3 separate regions of the Homo sapiens genome follow, and all the other regions are linked to region 1. The links are contacts of gene promoters, found by promoter capture Hi-C in blood cells and fetal thymus (Javierre and others, 2016). All regions are on one chromosome and are shown on one strand. Each heading gives the region's core, a stretch centred on a gene start or on the middle of the fragment in contact. The rest is flanking DNA. Distances are from core to core; before and after follow the strand shown. Region 1 holds the start of H1-2 (H1.2 linker histone, cluster member). Region 2 holds the start of H2BC12 (H2B clustered histone 12). Region 3 has its middle 5.8 kb from the start of H2BC11.

What was found. The method cuts DNA at HindIII sites, captures the fragments that hold promoters and counts their contacts. A CHiCAGO score of 5 or more calls a contact.
Region 2: the fragment with the promoter of H2BC12 here is called in contact with the fragment with the promoter of H1-2 in region 1 in 17 of 17 cell types (total CD8 T cells, naive B cells, naive CD4 T cells and 14 more); the score reaches 29.0 in total CD8 T cells.
Region 3: a fragment that was not itself captured here is called in contact with the fragment with the promoter of H1-2 in region 1 in 1 of 17 cell types (erythroblasts); the score reaches 5.1 in erythroblasts.

Annotation. Positions count from the first base shown.
Region 1 is chr6:26,054,322-26,058,053 of GRCh38, reverse strand. It overlaps H1-2 (H1.2 linker histone, cluster member), which reads left to right and starts at 1,584. Exons shown (of 1, transcript NM_005319.4): 1 at 1,584-2,314. The coding sequence starts at 1,626. The coding sequence ends at 2,267. RefSeq lists enhancers at 1,532-1,931, 2,022-2,071, 2,482-3,103, 3,724-3,732 and a silencer at 2,562-2,631. The HindIII fragment of the contact is 9,556 bases long and covers 1-3,732 here.
Region 2 is chr6:27,144,855-27,148,586 of GRCh38, reverse strand. H2BC12 (H2B clustered histone 12) reads left to right here and starts at 1,732. Exons shown (of 1, transcript NM_001312653.2): 1 at 1,732-2,226. The coding sequence starts at 1,789. The coding sequence ends at 2,169. It overlaps H2AC12 (H2A clustered histone 12), which reads right to left and starts at 1,481. Exons shown (of 1, transcript NM_080596.3): 1 at 1,025-1,481. The coding sequence starts at 1,458. The coding sequence ends at 1,072. MIR3143 (microRNA 3143) reads right to left here and starts at 961; the gene lies at 899-961. RefSeq lists enhancers at 1,095-1,344, 1,675-2,134, 1,389-2,305, 2,725-2,834. The HindIII fragment of the contact is 2,078 bases long and covers 842-2,919 here.
Region 3 is chr6:27,125,086-27,128,817 of GRCh38, reverse strand. No RefSeq gene overlaps it. Among named protein-coding and RNA genes, the nearest start is that of H2BC11, 5.8 kb to the left of the region's middle. RefSeq lists enhancers at 260-419, 1,442-1,511, 1,722-1,771. The HindIII fragment of the contact is 5,241 bases long and covers 1-3,732 here.

The DNA of each region.
Region 1 (3,732 bases), core at 335-2,834:
GCAGACAATGTTTACAAATGTTGGACAAATGTTATTTAATAAAACAATGGGGTCACCCTTAGTCTAAAAGATGTTTCACTTTTCATTTGTCATTGAACTCTTATTTGTAGGTTCCCTTTTGACTTTCCCACAATCTAAGGCTGTTCTCTTTAACACATATTTTCATGAAAACATATATTTGAGCAGAAATTGTTGGGGAGTTGTAATATTACCTTTGTCCCTAAATATGAATCTATAATTATATCAAATATATGGGCAGACAATTTACTTTGCCTTTAATCTCAAGAAAAAAATAGCAATTACTTGGGGTCGGAGAGTAAAATAAGAAGTAGTGAACCTTAAAGTAGCAAACTTTAGAACAGAATAGTTTCAGAGGGGATGAGAAGAGGTGATTTTTCAGCTCATCAACAACAGATCTTATAATAAATTACATGTTCTGGTACTTTTCTTGTCTTTCTGTGTTAAATTTTGCTATTTAAAAAAATAAATTTCAAATACATTGTTCATCTTAAAAGTCAAGAGTGTGTTTTATTAAAGTCAGTTGCTTTATTTGCAACTCAAAAGATATATTTGAGTTCCCAACTGGAGATTGTCCTATATGGTAACTTGCGTAAGGTATGGTTACTGAAAGTAACCTACAATTTTCATGGGCTGAAATTCATTTCTATATTGCAGCGTACAAAAATAAATAAATAAAAAATGCTTGTTTTCTTTGAAAACATATTATCTCAGTGCCTCTAACTGCCAAATCTATTGGCTTTTTTGCAGGCTTAAGGGCTCTCCCTTGTTCCTTTATGATCTCTATCTTGAGGGCCAGACCTCCTGCCTTACACAACTCAGAGGGGGACCTCAGAGCTCTTTAAAAAGAGCCCAATTTCTCGCCTGTAGAGAAGTGAAAAGGATGCCCCACCCCCATCTATGAAAAGAGGGATTTGATAGTTTCAATGTCTTCAAATCAAAGATTTAAGTCTGTAGCCCCCCACCACCCCGGACCCTAGCAAGGCTCATGAACCCCCTCCCATCCCGCCCTAATTGCTTTGGACTGGCCGTGGAATCCTTGTCCCAGTCCACAGTTCCTGTGCGACTGCACGAAGAATTCACAGAGGACCTGTGTTACTTCCCTTGTGAAGAAACAGAATTATCATGAAAATTTAGGTGGAAACCATTTCGCTTTTTTCTTCAAAAATAAGGGAAGCATGTGCCCAACCACCCCTGGGAAAAAGAACCTTCAGGGGCAAAGGAGCGAACAGGTAATTTATAAGAAAAACAGAAAGTGGTCTCTGACTGCCCCAGACTTCCTTCGGAGTTGGGGGAATTGGGGACGCCTGGACGCGTTGTTTTTGTGTTTGTGGAAAAAATAAATGAAGAGCATGAAGCCCGAGGCTTCTGAGATCCTTTCCTGACCAAACCCAAGTGATTTGGTGCGGGGAATTTTAATATTTTTCCCCTTTTGTGAGGTGGAACAAACACAACTTGGGAGCAGCGCAGCGGCTCAGAGCCTGCCAGCCAGGCGGGCGACCAGAGCACCAATCAGAGCGCGCCTGCGCTCTATATATACAGCGGCCCTGCCCAGGCGCTGCTTCATCGGCGCTTTGCCACTTGTACCCGAGTTTTTGATTCTCAACATGTCCGAGACTGCTCCTGCCGCTCCCGCTGCCGCGCCTCCTGCGGAGAAGGCCCCTGTAAAGAAGAAGGCGGCCAAAAAGGCTGGGGGTACGCCTCGTAAGGCGTCTGGTCCCCCGGTGTCAGAGCTCATCACCAAGGCTGTGGCCGCCTCTAAAGAGCGTAGCGGAGTTTCTCTGGCTGCTCTGAAAAAAGCGTTGGCTGCCGCCGGCTATGATGTGGAGAAAAACAACAGCCGTATCAAACTTGGTCTCAAGAGCCTGGTGAGCAAGGGCACTCTGGTGCAAACGAAAGGCACCGGTGCTTCTGGCTCCTTTAAACTCAACAAGAAGGCAGCCTCCGGGGAAGCCAAGCCCAAGGTTAAAAAGGCGGGCGGAACCAAACCTAAGAAGCCAGTTGGGGCAGCCAAGAAGCCCAAGAAGGCGGCTGGCGGCGCAACTCCGAAGAAGAGCGCTAAGAAAACACCGAAGAAAGCGAAGAAGCCGGCCGCGGCCACTGTAACCAAGAAAGTGGCTAAGAGCCCAAAGAAGGCCAAGGTTGCGAAGCCCAAGAAAGCTGCCAAAAGTGCTGCTAAGGCTGTGAAGCCCAAGGCCGCTAAGCCCAAGGTTGTCAAGCCTAAGAAGGCGGCGCCCAAGAAGAAATAGGCGAACGCCTACTTCTAAAACCCAAAAGGCTCTTTTCAGAGCCACCACTGATCTCAATAAAAGAGCTGGATAATTTCTTTACTATCTGCCTTTTCTTGTTCTGCCCTGTTACTTAAGGTTAGTCGTATGGGAGTTACTGAGGTATCAGACGAATTGGGTGACGGGGTTGGAGAGTGGCCGTGGTGAGGTTACAGCATTTAAACCTTTATTGCGGCTTCTAGGTCCCTGACCGGAGGCTTTTCTCGCTGGCGGATGGTTTTGGGATGGCAGTCCCGCCCCAGGCCTGTGAACGGCAGAAAAGACCGCAAAACAAGAGCCAGTTTCTTAGTCTAAAGGGATGTCCGGATTGGACTAAAAAATTTTCAAAAGTCCCGCCCTGCTCCCGGGTTGGTCCGTTCTTCTAGTACATGACTTTCATTCTGTATTTAATTGGATGGTGGAAGACGTTGCTTATTCTGTGTTTTTTGCTTTACTGTGACTTAAAAGTTTTGCCTCTTTTCTCTTTATATTAATGTCTGGGATTTCGGACGCTTTCCATGTTGTTGGTAGTCAAGTTGATGTCTCCTGGAGGTAGTGGCAACATCCAGCCCTGGGAGGAGAGTGCGTGCAGGTACCTTTGTCCTACATTCCTCTGCTGTTAATTTCTCATTCCTGTGGCAACGAAGGAATGCATTTAAAAAACAGCCACAACAGCGGCAATAGCCCTTCCTCCACCCAAGGCAATCGTGGACCTAGGGAGTTTTTTGTGCCACATAACATGTAGCCTTCCGCTAAACTGACAGGTTTGAGCGTATCGATTTTGAGCGTATCGAAAGCACAACTTTTAGCCAGCCATTTTGTCCTCGCATGACTACGGTTGCTTATCCTGTTTAGACAGACAGCAACATTTAAAAATCGAAGTTCCTTTAAACGTATTTTGTTTGGCAGTCCAAATGTTTCTATGCAGAAAACAGTATTTGTACTATTAACTATGAAGAGTGTATGGATAAATGGGAGACATTTCTAATAAAGGCCTTCGTTAATGGTTCCCTCTGTTTGACATCCATGGTGCTTCTGAATACAGAAAGCCTAGCGTCTTATATTCGCTTCTTTTAAAATCTGGTGGGCACATTTTGGTGAGACCTAAATTATGGGGACTGGGGCTTCTGGAGATAAGCTGCTCAATTATTCTACCATCTCCACAATGATTAATATAGTGAGTTGATTTGTTAGTGATAGTGACCACGGATTCATCCCAAGAAAGAGAAAGGGGAGGGAGGCAAGCAGAGAGACAGGAAGACAGAGGCAGGGAAGAAGGAGAAAACATTCTCCCATGGTTTAAGTAATTTTGTGTTGTTAATTTTACATTACAACACGGTTTAACATGGTGAACCCTCTATTTTGGTGTAAGGTTTAACATATGGACATATTTTTCCCAAGACCATTTATGAACTTTCATTTCTGCTTCCCCCTTCTTCCTCCCGTG
Region 2 (3,732 bases), core at 483-2,982, 1.1 Mb before region 1:
AGAGGGGGTGGGGCGGAGGAAGGAAACTCATAGGGCTTCCTAGGGTAGGTAAATTAATGTGGACAAGCAATCAAAAGCAATAGCAATCCCGATCTAATAAATTTGATAATACAAATTAGCTAGACAGAAAAAGCTATGTTGTATCCTAAGCTACTACAAGAGTGCATTAATACACCTGCTCCAAAGAAATGGGACTAAGGATTTACAAATATGGGATTCAGGAAATTCTGCATCCCATATTCTCCTTCCATCGGAATCAAATTCTAATGCAAATGAGTCACTAGACTTTCATCACCTGGGTAAAGTTACTCTTAAGAGTTAGACCACTTAAGAATCAGGCTGCCCTTTCTTGCTTTTCAAGAATACTTAGAATTGCAAAATTTGCCTTTAAAGAATGGCAAGTATATCCCATTTTTATGGCTGTTTGACAACACTATTAATGTAATAGAATTATTACACTGGAGGCCGGGCGCTGTGGCTCACGCCTGTAATCCCAGCACTTTGGGAGGCCGAGGCGGGCGGATCACCTGAGGTCAGGAGTTCGAGACCAGCCTGGCCACCATGGTGGAACCCCGTCTCCACTAAAAATACAAAAAAACTAGCCGGTCGTGGTGGTGTGTGCCTGTAATCCCAGCTATTCGGGAGGCCGAGACAGGAGAATCGCTTGAACCTGGGAGGTGGAGGTTGCAGTGAGCCGAGATCGCGCCGCGCCACTGCACTCCAGCCTGTTGGAGACTCCATCTCAAAAAAAAAAAAAAAAAAAAAAAAACCACTGGAATTAGTAAATAGATTTCAGGGATTTGTACGTTTGATTTCACTTATTACCCCTGCTGAATAAGCTTCTCCGGAGTATCCTACAACAACTTTTGGGTCTTCATTGCTTTCCAGTGGGTTAATTTAGAAACATTGTAAAGAGTTGCTCCAGCCCAACCGCGAAAGAAGCGCTTTACAATGTTATCTAGCGAAGCAAACATGAAGTGAAACAAACATGACTGTGTCCAGCTTTCTCTAAGACAGTGTAGAATGGCTCTGAAAAGAGCCTTTGTTTTCCAGTTTTCACAACCTCGCTCCTTATTTGGCCTTATGGTGGCTCTCAGTCTTCTTAGGCAGCAGCACGGCCTGGATATTGGGCAAGACACCACCCTGCGCGATGGTGACTTTGCCCAGCAGCTTGTTGAGCTCCTCGTCGTTGCGGATGGCCAGTTGGAGGTGACGCGGGATGATACGGGTCTTCTTGTTGTCGCGGGCCGCATTGCCAGCCAGCTCCAGGATCTCAGCGGTCAGGTACTCCAGCACCGCAGCCAGGTACACTGGCGCGCCGGCTCCAACCCGCTCGGCATAATTACCCTTGCGGAGCAGGCGGTGCACTCGGCCCACGGGGAACTGAAGCCCAGCCCGAGAAGAGCGGGTCTTGGCCTTGGCGCGAGCTTTACCGCCTTGCTTGCCACGTCCAGACATACTGGTCACAACTTACTGAAAGTAGCCAACGAGGAAAGGCAGCGCCTTTTATAAACACTATTGGGCGCGAAAAAGAAGATATGTCATTGGTTAGGGTTGTAGCTTAGTTTTAACCAATGGAAGTACGTCTTTTGGATTTGCAGATTGGGTTGATTGGGTATAACTAACCTCTGACGTCACCCTAATAACCACCAATCAGATACAGGACTTTCACTCTTCACCTTATTTGCATGAGAGGTCCTATATAAAAACGACTCCTGGTACCTTGCTCCCATTACTTCCCGTTTTCTCGATCTGCTGCTCGTCTCAGGCTCGTAGTTCGCCTTCAACATGCCGGAACCAGCGAAGTCCGCTCCCGCGCCCAAGAAGGGCTCGAAGAAAGCCGTGACTAAGGCGCAGAAGAAGGACGGCAAGAAGCGCAAGCGCAGCCGCAAGGAGAGCTACTCCGTATACGTGTACAAGGTGCTGAAGCAGGTCCACCCCGACACCGGCATCTCCTCTAAGGCCATGGGAATCATGAACTCCTTCGTCAACGACATCTTCGAACGCATCGCGGGTGAGGCTTCCCGCCTGGCGCATTACAACAAGCGCTCGACCATCACCTCCAGGGAGATCCAGACGGCCGTGCGCCTGCTGCTGCCCGGGGAGTTGGCCAAGCACGCCGTGTCCGAGGGCACCAAGGCCGTCACCAAGTACACCAGCGCTAAGTAAACTTGCCAAGTAAGCGTCTTAAAGCCCAACCCCAAAGGCTCTTTTAAGAGCCACTTAAATTATCGATATTAGAGCTGTAAACACGTGTTCCTAATCCAGGCTTAAATTCGGGCGATCTTTTTAAAGGGATTATCATGATCTTATCACACTGAGTAATGCATGCAGTGCTTGTAATCGAGTCTGGCTAAGGAGAAGCCACATACACTTTGTTAGTACTGAGTGAGGAATATGGCGCCTAAAAAATTAGGGATGTGCAGGAAACTTGTGTTAACAGAAAGTGCTTCCTGGCTCTTGGCGCGAAAATGGATACTTCCGTTGTGTCGAGTGCTGTGACTTCCTGTTAGAACTTGTTGAAAGCCTATTGTGTCACGTGTACTTTCCACCATGTAATGGCGTTCTAACGTGAGTTTATATATTAGTAAATTTGGTTCCCGATGGCGTTCCAGTACGTATGGCTTTCGCTCGAGCAGTTACCTTATTTAACCTCTTCTAGGCTGTACCCAGCTCTGCCTTGCTTTGCTTCCCCCTCACCCCCTGATTCCATCTCTGCAGCCCACGGGACATCGGGAAGATGCCAGACCACCAGGCAGGATAGTCTGCAAGGGTAAGGGGAGGAGCACAGCTTTTCTCAGGAGTGAAGAAACGGAACATGAAATCATCACGGAGATTTTTGGAATAGTTTACTAGTTTTTAAGGCATGTTCAGCGTCAATTGGTCCAATCAGTAATTTTTCCTTTTGACAAGAAAGCTTATAGAAAAGGAAAATGAAAAGCAAGTAGATTCAGAGGGGAGACAACAGACAGACTAGAGACAGTCCGCCCCGAAGCAAGAAGTTGGAGTAGAGGAGAAGGGAACTTCCCCAGCAGCACAGGGTTTGAGCTAAGTGTTAGGTGGTGGGTTAGAATTAGGTGGTGGGTTTTATTGTGTGATTAGAGGCTAGAATGACTATGCCGGTGATGAGCAGTGTGAAACTTTTTTGGAAGAACCAAGTGAAAGAAAGAGTCCACGAATTTTAAGCTAGGTTGTTACCTGGCTAAATTTGTGATTTAGAAATGTAGGCCAGTTTCACAGGGGAATTTTGTGTGTGTGTGTGTGTGTGTGTGTGTGTGTGTGTGTGTGTGTATTTAACATATTTGGCCACGCATTGTTCTAGTCTTTGGGGATATTGCCCGCCCTTAGGCATTTGGAGATTAGCAGGGTCATATTGAAAAACTTCATACATGCAAAGCATATGTTCACTGTTGATCCAAGTCTTATTTATCCTACCAGTAATTTTGGGGTTACATTAATATTCTAAGAAATGTATCAACAAATAATTATATTTATTGTTTACCTATATAGGAGGCACTGATCTATATCTATACCTATATAGGAGGGCAGATCACTTGAAGTCAGGAATTCAAAACCAGCATGGCTAACATAGTGTGAAACCCCGTCTCTACTAACAGTACAAAAATTAGGGGGGGCGTGGTAGCATGTGCCCGTAGTCCCAGCTACTCGGGAGGCTGAGGCAGAATTGCTGGAAGCCAGGAGGCAAAGGTTGCAGTGAGCCTAGATCACCTC
Region 3 (3,732 bases), core at 677-3,176, 1.1 Mb before region 1:
TTTCTTCTGTAGACAAAATGCATTCGTTAAAGAAAGGAGAGGTAGGAATGGAGTGGTACCTCTCATATTACACTTAATAATAGCCAACTCAAAAAAGTTATGCTTTTCATGTTTCCAACTCAGGGCTCCCTGCTGTTTTTTTTTGTTTTAGAAAAGGAGGAGTACATACTCCCACCAGTAGTCATGGAGATGCCTCTGTTTATTGATTTACCAAAAATGATTTATTTTTATATGAAGTTTAAAGCAGTTTAAATTACATTCATTTGCTGGCTTAGAGAACTGTGGGAAGTCTTGACTTAATGGGTGTTGGGCTTTTGGACTCCTCCTCTGTTTGTCAGTTTTCTTTTTGTTTCTGTTTCCCCCCCTTCCCCCACTCCTCCCCTCTCTTTTTAGGGGCATAGGCAAGGAGCTGTGACAGACAATTTGAGTGTTTTTAAAAATAGTCTCATAAAAAATATACCTTTGACTGGGTGCAGTGGCTCATGCATGTAATCCCAGCACTTTGGGAGGCTGAGGCAGGCACATCACGTAAGGTCAGGAGTTAGAGATCAGCCTGGCCAACATGGTGAAACCTGGTCTTTACTAAAAATACAAAAATAAGCCAGTCGTGATGGTGCGTGCCTGTAGTCCCAGCTACTTGGGAGCCTGAGGCAGGAAAATCACTTGAACTCGCAAGGCAGAGGTTGCAATGAGCTGAAATCGTGCTACTGCACTCCAGCCTGGGCAACAGAGAGAGACTCTGTCTCAAAAAAAAAAAAAAAAAAAAAAGAAAGAAAACAAAATATTTTTTCCCCAACACTTTTCAAAGAATGGTTTAAAAGCAATGACAATCCATGATCAGTGAGAATTCCCACCCAGATTATGGTCTCAATTCCTTTTTCAAAGGGCAGTCAGGCTACTTGGAGACTTGGGTAAATCTATGGATTTTAATACATTCAAGAGGAACAGCAATCAAATGCCATATTTGGATCTGGTGGGATCTCATTCAGACAAAATATAAAAATATTTGAGACAATTCAGGATTTTCTTTCTTTAAGGGCTAGGTATTGGATAATGTTACACATCATTTTTTAAATTTTCTTAGGTGTAAAATCTTAGCGTTTTTTCTTTATATCCATATCTGTTAGGATATTTGTGAAAATATTCATGATTAAAATCACATATTTGGGATTTCATGTTTCAGATATTTTTTAGACTCCCTCATCTGTCAGTGTGGGTGCGGATAATGAAACAAAATGGGCAAGATGTTGGTAATTGTTGAAGCCTGTGCGACGAGACTTGGGAAGTGCAGGATTCTCTATATTTTTGTGTCTGCTTCAGGATGTCCATGACCACTCCCTTTCCCCTCCAAAAAAAAAGTTAAAAAAAAAAAAGCTGGCCAAATCAGTGAACATATTTCGTTTTTGGTCAACAAAGGGCTACCCTGAGAGGAATCTACATGCAGAGAAGTTCAGGAGACTGAACTAACGGAACGTCAGGAAGCGCTGCGGGCTGGAGAGCTGCTGTTGGAACAGGGAGGAGTTCTCCGGGCCGCACCCTGCCTCCGTCCCGCAGGCGAGTTGAGAAGCGCTATCGCCATCTTGTGGCGATAATGGATGGGATAATGTAGCTAAAACTTTGTTTAGTTTTATGAGTTGAGAAGGGCTGTCGCCATCTTATGGCAATAACGGATAGGCTAATGTAGCCAAAACTTTGTTTCGTTTTATGATTTCGATTAGGCATTTCATTGCTACGGTTTAATAATTGAATATACAAGAAATACTATAAACCATCACATCCCCAACAGCCCCCAGCCGCCCAGTTCCCCCATCTACTTGGCAAAGATTCTCTTTTTGACCAAACTCTAGGCGGCTTCTTCTGAGCCCTCTTCTGGACTAGGTGGCCACCTTGGTCTATAAAGACCTGAACAAACCCGAACATAGTTACTAATAGCCCCGGTCTTCTCAAGTGCCTGCCTGAGAAAACTCAATTGATGCCGCCAAAGGAATTTACTGTTTGTTTCAGTCAACGTCTGAAGATAGGGCCCTCGTCTCCCAGGCTCTGGTAGGAGTGGAGCCTGATTTTGATATGTGCCAGTTATGAAACCCAGATGGTTCCCCACTGTCAGTGGTTACTAAATAAAATCTGTTTTCGTCATTTAAAGTAAGGCCTGGTGTTTTATCTTTGATATACTACAATTAACCACTTTTATTCGTTTCCTGTGTACCTGTCTGGAATATCTTTATACAAACACAAATAAACAAATGTGTCCCCTTTCATTCACATTTGCCCCCTTTCATTCAAATGACTGATGGTCACATGTTCTTCACAGGTTCTGTCTCTTGCTTTTCTCATTAACTGTCTTTCTTATTGCAGGTGGAGTGGCTGAAACTTCTCAGCAGGCGCATCTACACTAGTGACCTGAGGAGAGAAACCCTAACCCCACAATGGCTGCATCTTCTCTGAAGACGAGACTGATGCTCATCTTTGAAATGAAGGGCAGTGTGTGCATTTCTCCATGAAGGTATCCAGAAACAGCCATGCCAGAGCTGCTGTGGGGTGGCTGAACTGCTATTCCTTTTCTAGGGTGGGATCCCCACTCTTTGTAAGGAAGGATATTGGGGTCCTGACACTGGGAACTCATCTTGTCAGTGAGGCCTTCTTTAACTGCTGTCTTGTAATTGAGCCACCCCATCTGTGTTTCCTGTTCCAATTTAGGACTTTTTTTTTTTTATCATAATATAAAGATCTGAAATGCTATGTTTTCCTTATTCATTGGCTTATTATCTTTACTATCCCATCCTCCACACTAAAAGTTTTTTCGAGCTGGATTTGGGAGTTGTGGGGTAGGTTATATTTTGATCACTTGTATTTCCCAGCTTCTAGAACAGTGCCCAGCAAAGTACTTCTCTGAATAAATGAATAAAGTAATATTCCTCTGCTCTGCTGTTGCCAACTGGAATATCCTGAGGGAAATTTCTTTACTTTCCTCAGGGGATGATCCAGAAGATGAAAAACAAATTGTCATTCCATATAGTCCTCTTCTGAGTGTTTTTCAGTTTTGTTAAAACTCAGATTTTTTCTTTTTACCTGAATGTTTTTTTGTTAATGATTATTAGCATATACAGTATTTTCTTTTATGTACCAAAAAAAGGCAATTGATACAGTGCATGACTTGAAAATATACCTGCCTTCTCTGAGGCTCAAATTCAGGACTGTATTATTTGGAAAGCCTTGTTGGGTTGTGGCTCCCAAGAAATCATACCTAATTTCCCTTCTTTGAGAGCACTGATTTCTGAGTTTCCATTTCTCCTAGAAGAGAAACATTGGCTTGTAAGAATTTATGTATCATCAATGCTTCCTTTTCCATCCTGCACTTAGAAGGACCCAAGACTTGAGGGCTGCGCTGTCAACACTATTCCTTGCTCACCCTCTCTTTTGTTCTAATTATTTATGTCTTCCCGCCTTCAGAAATATCAGTTGCTCTTTCACCAGCCATTGTTTCCTCTCTGGCCCTAGTGCAGAGTAGGTGACGTAGTACAGCTGAAAGGATGAATGCTGGCAAACTTGTTTCTAGCCTAGATTTCTCCTTATTTTAAATCTGCACTTGCAACCACATGGCCTGAGACACTCCTCTTGAAAATATCACCAAAAGGACCTTATTATAAAAAGTCACCGCCATCTATTCAGGGCTATGTATTAGGGGACAATAAAGTGTAAGTCATGGCCAGGCACGGTGGCTAATGCCTCTAA